Linked DNA regions of Homo sapiens: regions 2 and 3 are each linked to region 1. The links are contacts of gene promoters, found by promoter capture Hi-C in blood cells and fetal thymus (Javierre and others, 2016). All regions are on one chromosome and are shown on one strand. The core of a region is centred on a gene start or on the middle of the fragment in contact, and the rest is flanking DNA. Distances in the headings are between cores, read along the strand shown. Region 1 holds the start of MBD4 (methyl-CpG binding domain 4, DNA glycosylase). Region 2 has its middle 2.9 kb from the start of MCM2. Region 3 overlaps RUVBL1 (RuvB like AAA ATPase 1).

What was found. Contacts are between HindIII fragments. The CHiCAGO score rates a contact against its expected background, and 5 or more counts as called.
Region 2: a fragment that was not itself captured here is called in contact with the fragment with the promoter of MBD4 in region 1 in 1 of 17 cell types (activated CD4 T cells); the score reaches 6.1 in activated CD4 T cells.
Region 3: a fragment that was not itself captured here is called in contact with the fragment with the promoter of MBD4 in region 1 in 1 of 17 cell types (activated CD4 T cells); the score reaches 8.1 in activated CD4 T cells.

What each region holds. Positions count from the first base shown.
Region 1 is chr3:129,437,808-129,442,055 of GRCh38, forward strand. It overlaps MBD4 (methyl-CpG binding domain 4, DNA glycosylase), which reads right to left and starts at 2,141. Exons shown (of 8, transcript NM_001276270.2): 1 at 1,923-2,141; 2 at 1-143. The coding sequence starts at 2,026. IFT122 (intraflagellar transport 122) reads left to right here and starts at 2,417. Exons shown (of 30, transcript NM_052989.3): 1 at 2,417-2,564. The coding sequence starts at 2,524. RefSeq lists enhancers at 1,971-2,050, 2,141-2,280, 2,481-2,690, 2,841-2,890, 2,921-2,970 and 1 more. The HindIII fragment of the contact is 2,558 bases long and covers 317-2,874 here.
Region 2 is chr3:127,593,380-127,597,627 of GRCh38, forward strand. It overlaps a transcript of TPRA1 not described here. Among named protein-coding and RNA genes, the nearest start is that of MCM2, 2.9 kb to the right of the region's middle. The HindIII fragment of the contact is 1,507 bases long and covers 1,013-2,519 here.
Region 3 is chr3:128,115,100-128,119,347 of GRCh38, forward strand. It overlaps RUVBL1 (RuvB like AAA ATPase 1), which reads right to left. Exons shown (of 11, transcript NM_003707.3): 2 at 4,229-4,248. Among named protein-coding and RNA genes, the nearest start is that of RUVBL1, 6.6 kb to the right of the region's middle. The HindIII fragment of the contact is 4,805 bases long and covers 1-4,248 here.

The DNA.
Region 1 (4,248 bases), core at 891-3,390:
GGCATTCTGTTCCTGCAGTAGCACCAAACTGAGCAGAAGCGATGGGTTCTTGTAGCAAGGGATTACATTCACTGCTTCTTTTTATCATCATTTGTTCCTCATCTTCTCCCACTCTTTCCAATTCCATAGCAACATCTTCTTTGCTGGAAAAACAAAGTCTAAGTGATTAACTTATTTAAAATTTATCTTCCACTGCCTACTCAGTTTTAATCCATGACAATGCAGGAACCACATAGATTATCCATATTAAAATGAGGGAGATTAAAGTCAGTGTGGACCAGTCTTGTGCTATGGGAGTATTTTCCTGTCTTCCAAAAGCTTCCCATATCCTCTAGCACAGGTTAAAAGGTGTTGGAAATCTCTGCACAACAAAAAAGTCAAGCTAGAAACTTTTCGGATTAATCACTGAGTAGGGCTATTATAAAGATTTCTGGGGGCACTTACCATAAATTTGAGAATATGAACCAATAGCTAAGCTCTTAAGCACCAGAAAATGCTTAAATAAATCAGTGAGTTACACTGTCTTCTCTGCAAATAAATGAGGTAAAAGTTTTACATAATGTAAAATTTCTGGGAGAGAGTGTGTATCACTTTCATCAGATGTAATCCTCCAGAAGGTAAATAATTTGATACAGAATTTTTGAATCTTCTTCATTCTTGATCCTCATGGTAACCTTGTAGGTACAATAAGGTTTACTCTCAATTTATTGATAAAATTGAGTGACAGGTTAAATTACTTGCAGAACAGACACGAGAACCCAAGTCTACCAAATCTTGGTCTAATACTTCTCCCCCATACTGTTATTGAAAAAAGCTGGCAAGGCAAGGTGGCTCATTCCTGTAATGCTAGCACTTTGGGAGGAGGAAGTGGGAAGATCACCTGATCCCAAGAGTTTGAGACCAGCCTGGAGAGCACAGTGAGATCCTCGTCTTTGCAAAAAATGAAAAAAAAAACCCAAAAAAACAAAAAAAAACAAGCAACCGGGCGTGGTGGAGCATACCTGTGGTCCCAGCTACTAAGGAGGCCGGGGTAGGAGGACTGCTTAAGTCCGGCAGGTCAAGGCTTCAGGGAGCTATGATTGTGCCACTGCACTCCAGCCTGGGTGACAGAGCGAGACCTCATCTCAAAAAAAAACCCACTAAACTAAAACTTCATTAAAGTTCCAATGTGTCTTCTATGATGAAAACATACTTTTAAAATTAAAAAAAAAATTTCAGTAAAGTGTATCCTAATCACTAAACCACAGATTGTAAAAGGTGGATGGGTCTAGAGAGATCATTTAACCCAAGTTCTTTTCTACAAATAGGGAAACTGCAAGAACTAGAATTAGAATCAAGGTTTTCTGATGTAATTTGGGGTAAAATAATTTTGAGGAGCTGGATGGATCTTATGAAATGATATTGTTTACAATTTTAGAGATAAAAATACTGAAGCCTGGTGGAATCAGCACAAACTCTTAAGAGACTGGGGCTCAAATTCCAGCTCTACCAGCTGTAAGTTTAGCAGCAAGTTACTTAACATCTCAAAGTCTCGGTAAAAGACTCTGTAAAAAGAAGGTGATGCCTCTTTCAAAGTAGTTCTTAGTATTAAATTTTGAAAAAAGTAGGTAAATCTTAACCTCCTATCACACACGTAGTCTAATGACTTCCTAGGATCCTCCAACCCCAAGGGGACCTCTTTCACAAAACCTCCCGGCTCCCCCCCAGTCTCCCTAGTCATCTTAGATGAGGAAGTCGAGCGCACCCCAGGGCTGATCGCACAGGAAGAGCACCTGGGCTCCAGACCCTAGTAACTAAACCCGTGGGCTTCGAGGTTTCTGCCGACCCTCTGTCAAAGGTTAGAAAGGCCCACACACTGTCCACTCTCCCGATACCATTTTACAGGTGGTGAAACTGAGGCCCAAAAGGGGACAGTAACTTACCGGAGGTCATTCGGCGGGTCTGGGACTAGGCGCTCACTAGAGGTGACGGTGGGGGCAGCTCCGCGGTCCCCCAGACTCAGACTCTCCAGCCCAGTCGTGCCCATCGAGCAGGGTCCGGCTGCAGCAACGAGCCCAGCGCCGCAACGCCCAGGGTGTGGGGCGGAGTAAGATGTGAAACCTCTTCAGCTCACGGCACCGGGCTGCAACCGAGGTCTGAATGTTGCGAAAGCGCCCCAGACGCCGCCGCTGCTTTCCGGCCGCCCCCTCGGCTACAGCCGCCATTTCCACGCTCCACCAATCAAATCCATTCTCGAGGAAGACGCACCGCCCCCACACGCCCCGACCAATCGCTCGCGCTCTGGTTGCGCTGGCGCCTTAGGGGCTCCAGTGCCACCATTGCTTTTGCTGCTTTTCTGGCTTTCCCTTTCGGACATGCGCGCTCGGAGCAAGGCGCCCTCGCACTCAGCTTACCGCGCATGTACGTTGCCAGGGGTAACGCAGGTAGCCAAAGTGGCTTGTGGAGTGGCGACCGTTAGTGAGGCGGTTGCTGAGACAGACGCTGAGGCGGGTAGGAGGAGCCCGAGCCGTAAGGGAAGCCGTGATGAGGGCCGTGTTGACGTGGAGAGATAAAGCCGAGCACTGGTGAGGAGCGGGGCGGTTCGCGAAGAGCAGGAGGTCGAGTCCTCGCGGGGAGTGCGCGAGCCGCTGCAGCGTGTTTGAGGGGGGCAGCGGGCTTGCTGCCTGGGCCGAGGGCACTGAACCCCGGCCTGGGAGACTGCAGGGTCGCCCTCCCGCCCCTTGGCGGTTGGAGAAACTCCCGAGGGTTGGAGAGCGGCAAAGGGAGGTGCCGCGCCTGAGGTGGTGGCGGGTGGAGGCGGCTCTTCCCTCACGGTCTGGCCCTGTCGCTGCCTTGGATTCATCTCACACCCACGAGACAGCACGAAGCTGCTCAAGCTTCACAGTTCTTGCCACATCCACATAGTACCCATACTCTTGTTTTCTTGACGTTTTTCTCTAAATTGTCTCATTTATTTTAATTATGATTTCACATTTTACAAGGAAACTTTATTACTCCATTTATGAAAACCAGTGTCACTTGCTCTAAATGTTAAGATAAAATCAGCGTCGCTTGCTCTAAGTGTAAAAGTAAAACTTAAAGTAGGGAGAAACAAAACTGAACAAGCTGTAGCTAGCTATTGTTGCTAGGGAGCCTTTAAACCTGAGATCTCGTTTCTCTAAAACTGGAGATGGGCAGGTATGATCAGAAAGGTGCTCAAAATGAGCACCAAACACAAGCTCTCCTAATTGGGAAGTCTGAAAAAGAACTGAAGGGGAATGACTTTGTCACCTTTTGATTCAGTTATTTAATGTCCTATTCCATTGTTATCGCCTAAATCTATAACATAGCAGTCTGTTTTGTCATATTCTTACTTATGGGATAGGTCTTGGCCTGACTTTGAAAATCATTCAGCATTGTTGTGAAGCCTCTGTTCTGGCCACTGGAGCAGGTTACTTGTCTTTGGTTCTGTCCCTTCTGAGATCTTTCTCTGTGTAAAGCATGCCGTCTCTCCTCATCTCACACGGAAATCCTGAACATCCTTCAAGGCTCACGTTGGAGACGGGTCCTCTCTTTTGTGTTCGGCACTAGTGGTAGCTGACACTATGTGCCAGGTGCTGGCTAAGCACTTCATATCCTTTATCTCGTTGTGTCTTCACCACTCTCTAAGGTAGGTACTATAATTTCCTCTATTTTATGTATGAGGAAACTGAAGCCCAGAGAGGGTGGATAATTTGCCAGCGTCACACAGTGAGGGGTGGAACCAGCTTTCAAGCTCAGGTCTTCCTCACTCCAACGTCAACGCTCTCAGCCACTACATTAATTTTTCCTTATGTTACAGACGTGGCAAACTCAAATGTCTGCAGGAGACAGGCAGGTAACATAAATGGGAGATGTTTATTTGCATCTTCAACACTAGGAATTGTATGTTTTCCCTAGGAATAGTCTTGTATTCTGTACCCCATTTTTCTTGAAACACAGCCGTATCAGTGAATCTTTCATTTGTACTTTTAATAGAGATTTGAGTTTTAAAAAATCATTTTACTTTTAACTTTATTATAAACGTACCTATAGCACAAGCTGATGATAGCTGGCAACTGAACATTTGGCTTCAATGTCAGAGTAATAGAGTGTGGCAAACTGCAGAGCTCATGCTCGGCCTAAAAGGGGCAGCTGCTGCTCAGCTCCTGCCAATTACCACCATGCAGGAATTTGGCCTAGTGTGCTCAGCTCTTCCTGTTTTTACCAGAAGCTAGGAATCTGGGTTTT
Region 2 (4,248 bases), core at 516-3,015, 1.8 Mb before region 1:
TAGTGCTTAGGCGTGAGAAGCAAAGTGGGTGCAACTGTCATAGGACCATCAAGATCAAGCTCAATATATCACTGGGATAGACATCCTGTGTAGTAAACAAAATGCCTGCACTGGTTCCTTGGTCTATGGGGTGAGAGTGATGGTAGTAAAAGTCAAGTGAAAGCCTCTGAGACCCCACTATCACCACCACCCACCCCGGCCAAGAGAGCAAGCACATAAACAACATCACACACCAGAGAAAATGGCGGAGACTGGTGCCACCCTTGAAGACCAAAGACGTGTGGAGGGTATCCCCCACCATGTACCTATTTAATTCATCAGTCTGACCTTATAAAAATAAACAGAGTGGCAATGGACTATTGCAGATTCAGCCAAGTGGTAGCCCTGACCACAGGTGCTGTGCAGGTGCATTGCTAGCACAGACAGATCAGCACGGCCCCCGCTTCTCAGGGGCCATCTGATCACCACACTTTTTCATCCCTATCAGGGACCATTTGCACTCATAGGAACGGCCAACAATACACACATATGGTCTTGCCCCAGGCCAATGATACCTTTCCCATCCTTTGTCATCACAGTCTGAAGGAGACTGGGCCATCTGAACGTCTTGCAGAACACTGCACTGGTTCATGGTGTCAATGACAATGTGCTAATCAGGATGGATGAGCAGGAGGTGACAAGTACATGGAAAACTTGATGAGACATATGTGCTCCAGCGGGCAGAAGATTAAACCCTATGAAGAATTAGGGGCTTGCCACATCAGTGAGGTTTGTAGGGGTCTGGTGGTGTGGGGCACACCAGAACATCCCCCTGCACACTCCATCACAGAAGAGCAAGCACAATGCTTAGAGGCCTCTTTGGGTTCTGGAGGTAGCAGATTCCACACCTGGGAGTGCTGCTCTGACCCACATATCTCTGGGTCACATGACATCAAAGGCTGTCCCTCAGGCTATGGGACCCACAGACCCCATGATACTAGAGGCATACATGGTGGGAAGATATGCTGTGTGAAGCTTACAGCAAGCTCTGGTGGGAAAAACCACAAAGTAGACCCCCTAGGGTTCTGGAGCAAGACCAGGTCATCTATAGTAGAGAACTAGACACCATTCACAAAGCAGCTCTGCCAGGCTACTGGACCCTGGTAGAGATGACTAGGGGACATCAAGTGACCATGAGGCCAGAGCTGCCCCTCATGAACTGGGTTCTGTCAGGCCCTCTAATATGTAAATTCAGGTGGGTGGGCCTAGCAGCAATCCACTGAGACTGTAAGCAATCCGTTGTACATCCACATCACCTACCACTGCCACAGCAGCTCCTCTGCCTCAGTTCACAACTACGCCAATGGGCAGTTCTTACGGAGGAAAAAGGCTGCGCTTGATCACAGCTGAGCTGGCTCAATACATGGGTCAGATGTAGTACCTGGATGTGCAGCGGTCGCATGGAGCCCTTGAGGATGAAAGCCACAGGCTACAGATGGTGGAACCAGAATGGGGAGGAGACTTGTCCTCGGCGATGTCCTGAAGCAGCTGCCCCAGCGCTGGATGCCTACTGACCTGGGAAGAGCAAACCCCAAGGTGATGTGTCCTGGAGCAAGTCCAGCATGACTGTTGGCTGGGGTCCCAGCTCCTCACTCCCCAAGCCTGTCCCAGGCTGCCTGAGTGTCCTCAAGACATGGATGCTGCCTTCTCTCAGAGTGAGCAAAGCTGCAGTCTTTTTGTAACTGAATCTCCAAAGTAACATCCAACCACATCTGTCCTATGCTGTTGGGAGGAGATCACACAAGGGTGTGAATACCAGAAGGCAAGGGCCATCAGGGCCATAATAGAGGCTGCCTACTCACCCCACCCACCTTTCTGTCTCTCCTACCCTGCCCCCAACCAGTGTTTAAACATGTCCAAGAACCTCTCATCTGAGAAAAAGCCATATCCCACTCCAGTGCCTGTCCCAGCTCTCACAGTCCATTCCACACCTGGGAATGCCTCTCTGACCCATACATCTTTGGGTGACATAAAAGCACTCCAGCCTCCAACTAGTAACTCACATTCACCCTTCTCACTTCCCTGCATCCTACCTGTCAACACACTTCAATGTAGTGTCTGACTCCAGACACACCGGCCAGCCCAGATCTGCTATCGCCAGGGCCACTAACAGCTCCTAGTCCTTATCAGATGACCTCTGGGCAGCCAGCTGACCCCATCCACCATCTTGACTGCTCTCTTCAGTGGCCTTTGGGAGGGCTCCTGATAATCCCCAGCCCTGCTAGGATCTCCTCTCCTTCAGTGTGGGCCGGACCTCAGGACTCACTTCTCGCTAAGAGAATATGGCAAAAGTAAAGGAATATCACTTCCAAGACATGGCATCTGTCTTGTATGGCCTCTCTCTCTTGTTCGCTTGCTCTGAAAGAAACCAGCTGCCAGGTTGTAAGCTGCTCTGTAGAGAGGCCCCCACCCAAGAGCCAGTGGGAAACTAAGTCTTCAGTCCAACAGCCTATGAGGACCTGAATCCTATCATGTGAAGAAGCTTGGAAGGGGATCCTCCTGAAGATGAGCCTTCAGAGGAGACAGCAGCCCTGGCCAATACCTTGCCTGCAGCCTTGAAAGACCTTGAAGAAGAGGCACCCAGTGGCATCGTGTCCAGATCCCTGATCCACAGACACCGAGACAGTGGGTGCTAATTGCTTCAAGGTGCTAAATCCCAGGATAATTTTTTTTTTTTTGAGATAGAGTTTCGCTCTTTTTGCCCAGGCTGGAGTGCAATGGCACAATTTCGGCTCACCGCAACCTCCACCTCCAGTGTTCAAGTGATTCTCCTGCCTCAGCCTCCTGAGTAGTTGGGATTACAGGCATGCGCCACTACGCCTGGCTAATTTTGGATTTTTAATAGAGACAGGGTTTCTCCATGTTGGTCAGGCTGGTCTTGAACTCCTGACCTCAGGTGATCCACCTGCCTCAGCCTCCCAAAGTGCTGGGATTACAGGTGTGAGCCACCATGCCTGGCCATCCCAGGATAATTTTTTATGCAGCAATAGATAACACAAGCCCATGCAGAGTCTCTTCAGCTTTCCTGTCAGCAGCTCCTAGCATCCGAGGTGCATCCTTCACATCCTTTGTTGGTGTCTCTTAACTGTTGGGGTTTCCCAGGTCCCAGGCTTAGACCTTCTCATCTCCCTGCACTCACTCTGGATTATACAACCACTCCCAAGGCAATCTACAGCTTCAGTCCAAACACGCCCTTGAGTCCCATACATGGATATCCAACAGCTTCCTGGATATGTCCCCTCGGCCCAAATTCAGCACAGCCAGAAACAAACTCATCTTCTTCCCCCTTAAATTGCTGGTCTTCCTGTGCGCTCCTATCTCAGCTATCATCCACCTAGCTAAGCCAGGATCCTGGTGTCATCCTGCATGCCTCTTTTGCTGTCCTCAATCACCAACACCTATAGACCCCACTTCCTGGCCGGGCGTGGTGGCTCACGCCTGTAATCCTAGCACTATGGGAGGCCAAGGCAGGCGGATCCACTTGTCAGGAGTTGGAGACCAGCCTAGCTAACAATGGTGAAATCCCATCTCTACTAAAAATACAAAAATTAACCGGGCACAATGGCGTGCATCTCTAATCCCAGCTACTCGGGAGGCTAAGGCACGAGAATCGCTTGAACTTGGGAGGTGGAGGTTGCAGTGAGCTGAGGTTGCACCACTGCACTCCAGCCTGGGTGACAGAGTGACTCTGTCTCAAAAAAAAAAAAAAGATTCCACCTCCTAAACATCTTGTATTTCCAGTTCTCTCCATCACTCCTGCCTCCCTACCCTGGGTCCCAGGCAGAGATGCTTGTTCACTGCACAAAGTGCCTGGCTAAGAGGGTTGCGATTCAGCCCTGCCTCTGCTCACTAAGGCTGCCTGGAACTAGACAAGAACCACAGCAACCTCCTCGTTTGCTGCCTTCAACCTCGTTCAATCCACTTCCACCTGGTAGCAGCCAGAGGGATTCTAAAACCCACACTAGTTCACGTCTCACCCTGCTCAAAATGCTTCCATGGCCTTCCATTGCTTTCAGAATACAGAATAGTCAAACTCTCTAGAAAAACATCTAGCTCTTTTTTGATCCGGATTTTCTCTCCCTCAAGTCTTGTCTGTTGCCCGGCATCATAAGCTCCTAGGGTTAGTTCTTAGGGAGGGGCTTGCACATCCGGGCCCTGCCATGACCTCTGCAGCTTTGCACATGGCATCCTTCTATCTGTAACATCCTC
Region 3 (4,248 bases), core at 1,071-3,570, 1.3 Mb before region 1:
ACAGAGTGCTGCATAGACCTCATCGAATCTCCCCAACTAGCCTATGACCTTGATCATCTAGTTTGTATTTTATAGATTAAGAAACAAACTCAAAAGTTACCAACACACCCAAGGTAAAACCGCAAGCAGCAGCACCAGGATGCAAACCCCAATCTCCAAAGCCATTTTTTTTTGTACTCACCCCATGTGAGTGACAAGTGGCACAAAAAAGAGGTTGTTGCCAAAAGAAGGTTGAAGAAATCTCTATTTTTCAATCTCATCTGAATATCTCCTTCTTCTAAAACCCAAACCCATTATTAACAGTGTGAGGTCCTCAAGAGTGGAAATGCATATGAACCATGCATTTGCATCTCTAAAATAAGCAGTATTTCTGCCTGTCACCCAGGTAAGTTGCCTAAACTTTGGGACCCTGCAGCAAACCATTAAGCAGAAGTCACCAAATTCCTTCATACACATTGGAAGGGAGTGGACAAACTTATAAGGTAATACCACAGTGCTGAGCACTTCTCATATTTCCTGGGAGGAAAGCAATACAATATCACCAAAAAAAATGAAAGACATATGCTTCTAGCAATATGGCACACTGGGTCCACTGAAAACCTCTCCTCTTACAAAACACCTAGAATTGAATAAATAATAACATTCAGAGCAGTAAACTATTTGCCTTGAAAGTTCAGAGACTGTAGATACAGGAAAGCTCAGCAAGGTATAGCACTTAAGATAGAAACCCCTGAATAAAACCGGGACTGGGCACGGTGGCTCAAGCCTGCAATCCCAGCACTTTGGGAGGCCGAGGCAGGTGGATTGCTTGAGCCCAGGAGTTCAAGACCAGCCTGGGCAAAATGGCGATACCCCATCTCTACGAAAACTACAAAAATTAGCCAAAGCGTGGTGGTGTGCACCTGTAGTCCCAGCTACTCAGGAGGCTGAGGTGGGAGGACCACCTGAACCCAAGAGGTAGAGACTGCAGTGAGCCGAGATCACTGCACTCCAGCCTGGGTAACAGACCACTGCACTCCAGCCTGGGCGACAGACTGAAACTGTCTCAAAAAACAAACAAACAAACAAAAACATTACAATTAAAAAAAAAACATAAAAGAGGACTCTTGAAGGGCCACACATGAGTAAAAAAGGTGGGCCATAACAAAATACATCTGGGGGCCAGGCACAGTGGCTCACGCCTGTAATCCCAGCACTTTGGGAAGCCAAGGCAGGTGGATCACCTAAAGTCAGGAGTTCGAGACCAGCCTGACCAACATGATGAAACCCCATCTCCACTAAAAATACAAAAATTAGCCAGGCACCTGTAATCCCAGCTACCCAGGAGGCTGAGGCAGGAGAATCGTTTGAACCTGGGAGGCAGAGATTGCAGTGAGCCAAGATCACGCCACTGTACTCCACCCTGGGCAAGAGAGCGAGACTTCATCTCAAAAAAAAAAAAAAAAGACATTATAACTTGTAACAATTTATGCAGTGTGTAATCTTTGATTGCATTTTGATATTCTGGTGTTTTTTAAAAAGCCAAAAACTGAAACAACTTGGAAAGATGTTTTCTGATTTCTATCACCTATATTTTCTTTTCATTAAAACAATTTAACTTCGTTGTCTTTGAAAGCACATTTGTTAACTGCTCATGGAATCATATGATGAGCTGCCAGGCTCCCTCATCTTTGTGATTTCTCTACCACAGTGGATATGGTTACCTACTCCTTTCTTTAAAGGTTCTCCTTTCTTGGTTCCTGAGACACCATTCTCTCCCTGGCTCTGCTGCTCATTTTTTAAAAATTAATTAATTTAATTTTTAATTGACAAAAATTGGGGGAATATAATAGCATTAGCAAGGTGGGTCTGATGATGGCACCGTGGTCATGTAGGAAGACATCCTTACAACTTACTGTCAAGTGGTTCAGAAATAAACTAGAGAAAAAGCAAATGTCACAAAATATTTATAACTGGCTATCTAGGTATAGGGTATAGAGGGGCTCATCACACTATTCTTTCAAGTTTTTTGTAGGTTCCAAACTTTTCAAAATGAAAAGGAAAAAAATATTCAATAGATTGGATTAATCAGTCACTTAATCATAGCTTAAGAGACAATTAGACTGGAACAAAGATCTAAAAGAAATTACCCATAATTTAGCAGAGTCAAAAAGATAACAAATATGAGAGGCTAAAAGACAAAGAGGACAAAACGAGAAGCTCTAGCCCAGGGTTTCTCAGCTTGACTCCATGACGTTTGTGGCCAGATAATTCCTTATTATGGAAACTGCTCTGTGCACTACAGGATGTTTAGTAGCATCCCTGGCCTCCACCCACTAGATGCCAGTAGCACCCCCAACCAAGTCGTGAGAACCAAAAATGTCTCCAGACGTTGTCAAAGTCCCCTGCAAGGGCAAAACTGCCCCAGGTTGAAAACCACTGCAATCTTAACCTCATCTCAGTGGAGTTCCAGAAGGAAAGAACAAAGAGAATGGGGAAAGGCAATAGCTGAAGAGATTAACGCTGACAGTTTTTTTGTTTTTTTTTTTTTTGAGACGTAGTCTTGCTCTGTCACCCAGGCTAGAGTGCAATGGCATGATCTTGGCTCACTGATACCTCTGCCTCCCAGGTTCAAGCGATTCTCCTAAGGCTGACAATTTTCCAGAATTGAGCAGAGACATAATACTCAGATTCAAGAAGCACAATTAGCATTAAGCATGATAAACAAAAATTAATCCACTCTGACATATAATAGTGAAACACCAAACCCAAAAATATCTCAAAAACATGCAGAAAGAAGACTCAAAACCCTCAAAATTAGACTTCTCAAAAACAACAGAAGCCAAAGGAGCAAATAACATTGAGAGAGAAGTACTGTGAAACAGTACTGAAGAAAATATCTGTCAACTGAATTATATAGCCAACATAGCTCTTTTTCAAAACAAGGGCAACATAATGAATGCAAACGTGAGAGACTTTCCCACCAACAAACTTCTAGAAGAAATTTCTAAATTATTTACTTTAGGAAGAAGAAAAATGGAGGGAAAGAGAAGGTCTAAGATATAAGGAATAGCAAGCAAATAAATGGTAAATGCACTGGACAAGCTAATGTTGCCTGGAGAGAGGTAACTGAAGCTCACATCTGTATGGCACTTTACAGTTTAAAAAACTGTTCACAATTTGCTTTTATATAGGAAGAGAAAAAACTGTTCACAAATATAGCACTTCTTCCTCTTGTAAGATACCAATATAAGATACACAATCAGTAATCATTTCAAAATTATAATGCAAGTCATTATCTTACAATCGATCAGTTTAATAATTGCTTGAAATAGGTAGAGTATGCTTTTGCTTAGAAAAGTTAAGGGACCTGCCTCAGGTCTCATAGCAAGTCAATACTAGAGCTGGAATTTAAAGCCCATTTCTTTTCACACACAACCCCAAGCTCCTACTTGCCCACATCAAGCGGCCCTTTTGAAGAATAAGCAAGCTCAAATTGGGAACTCTGGTGAGTTTCAAGTATCTGGCCAGTCCCCTCACGAATCCCAAGAAGCCACACGGTGTCCTCTGCCTGAAAGGCCCTTATCTTCCCTGCAAAGCCAAATCCTCTCCCAGCTCTGAAGGGAAAATGTCAAGTCTCAACCCTTCCAGCTGTACCAGCCCACAGTGCTGCCTCCTTAAATTCCAGCTGCATTTAATATTAGTCAATACCTCAAAGCTGAGCACTCATACTGAGTCCTCCTGTGCTGTCATGATTTCCTTTCTTTCTGCCCTGGAGAGACTGTAAGCCCCTTGAAGATAAAAATCATGTCTCTAATTCTTGTTTTCCTTTTTTTCATCTCCCACACAGCCACAATAGCGATGCGTAAAGCTAGCATTTGGAAGAATGCTTGACTCATTTTTTTGTCCCCTCAAGTAAGATGTCACTCAGAAGATCTTTATGAAGCCCTAGGCCAACAGAAATGTATTTCCACAGCAAAGGAGACTTGAAAGAGAAAAAGGACAAATTCTAGAGACAATGAGACCCCTTCAAGGACTTCATTCTTTCTTCTCTGGAGGTAGGCCAGGATAATTTGAATTTTAGAAGCAGGGATTTTAGATACCCAATTGTATTATTGCATATTAATTTTAAAAACATACATATAACCCATTTAGCTAAACAAAGACTAGTTAAGACATGAATTCAATTTGGCTTAGACACTAGGATCATTCTCCTGGGTAGATTTAAAAAATGAGAGAAAATGAGTACCTTGCCAGTTCCAGGAGGTC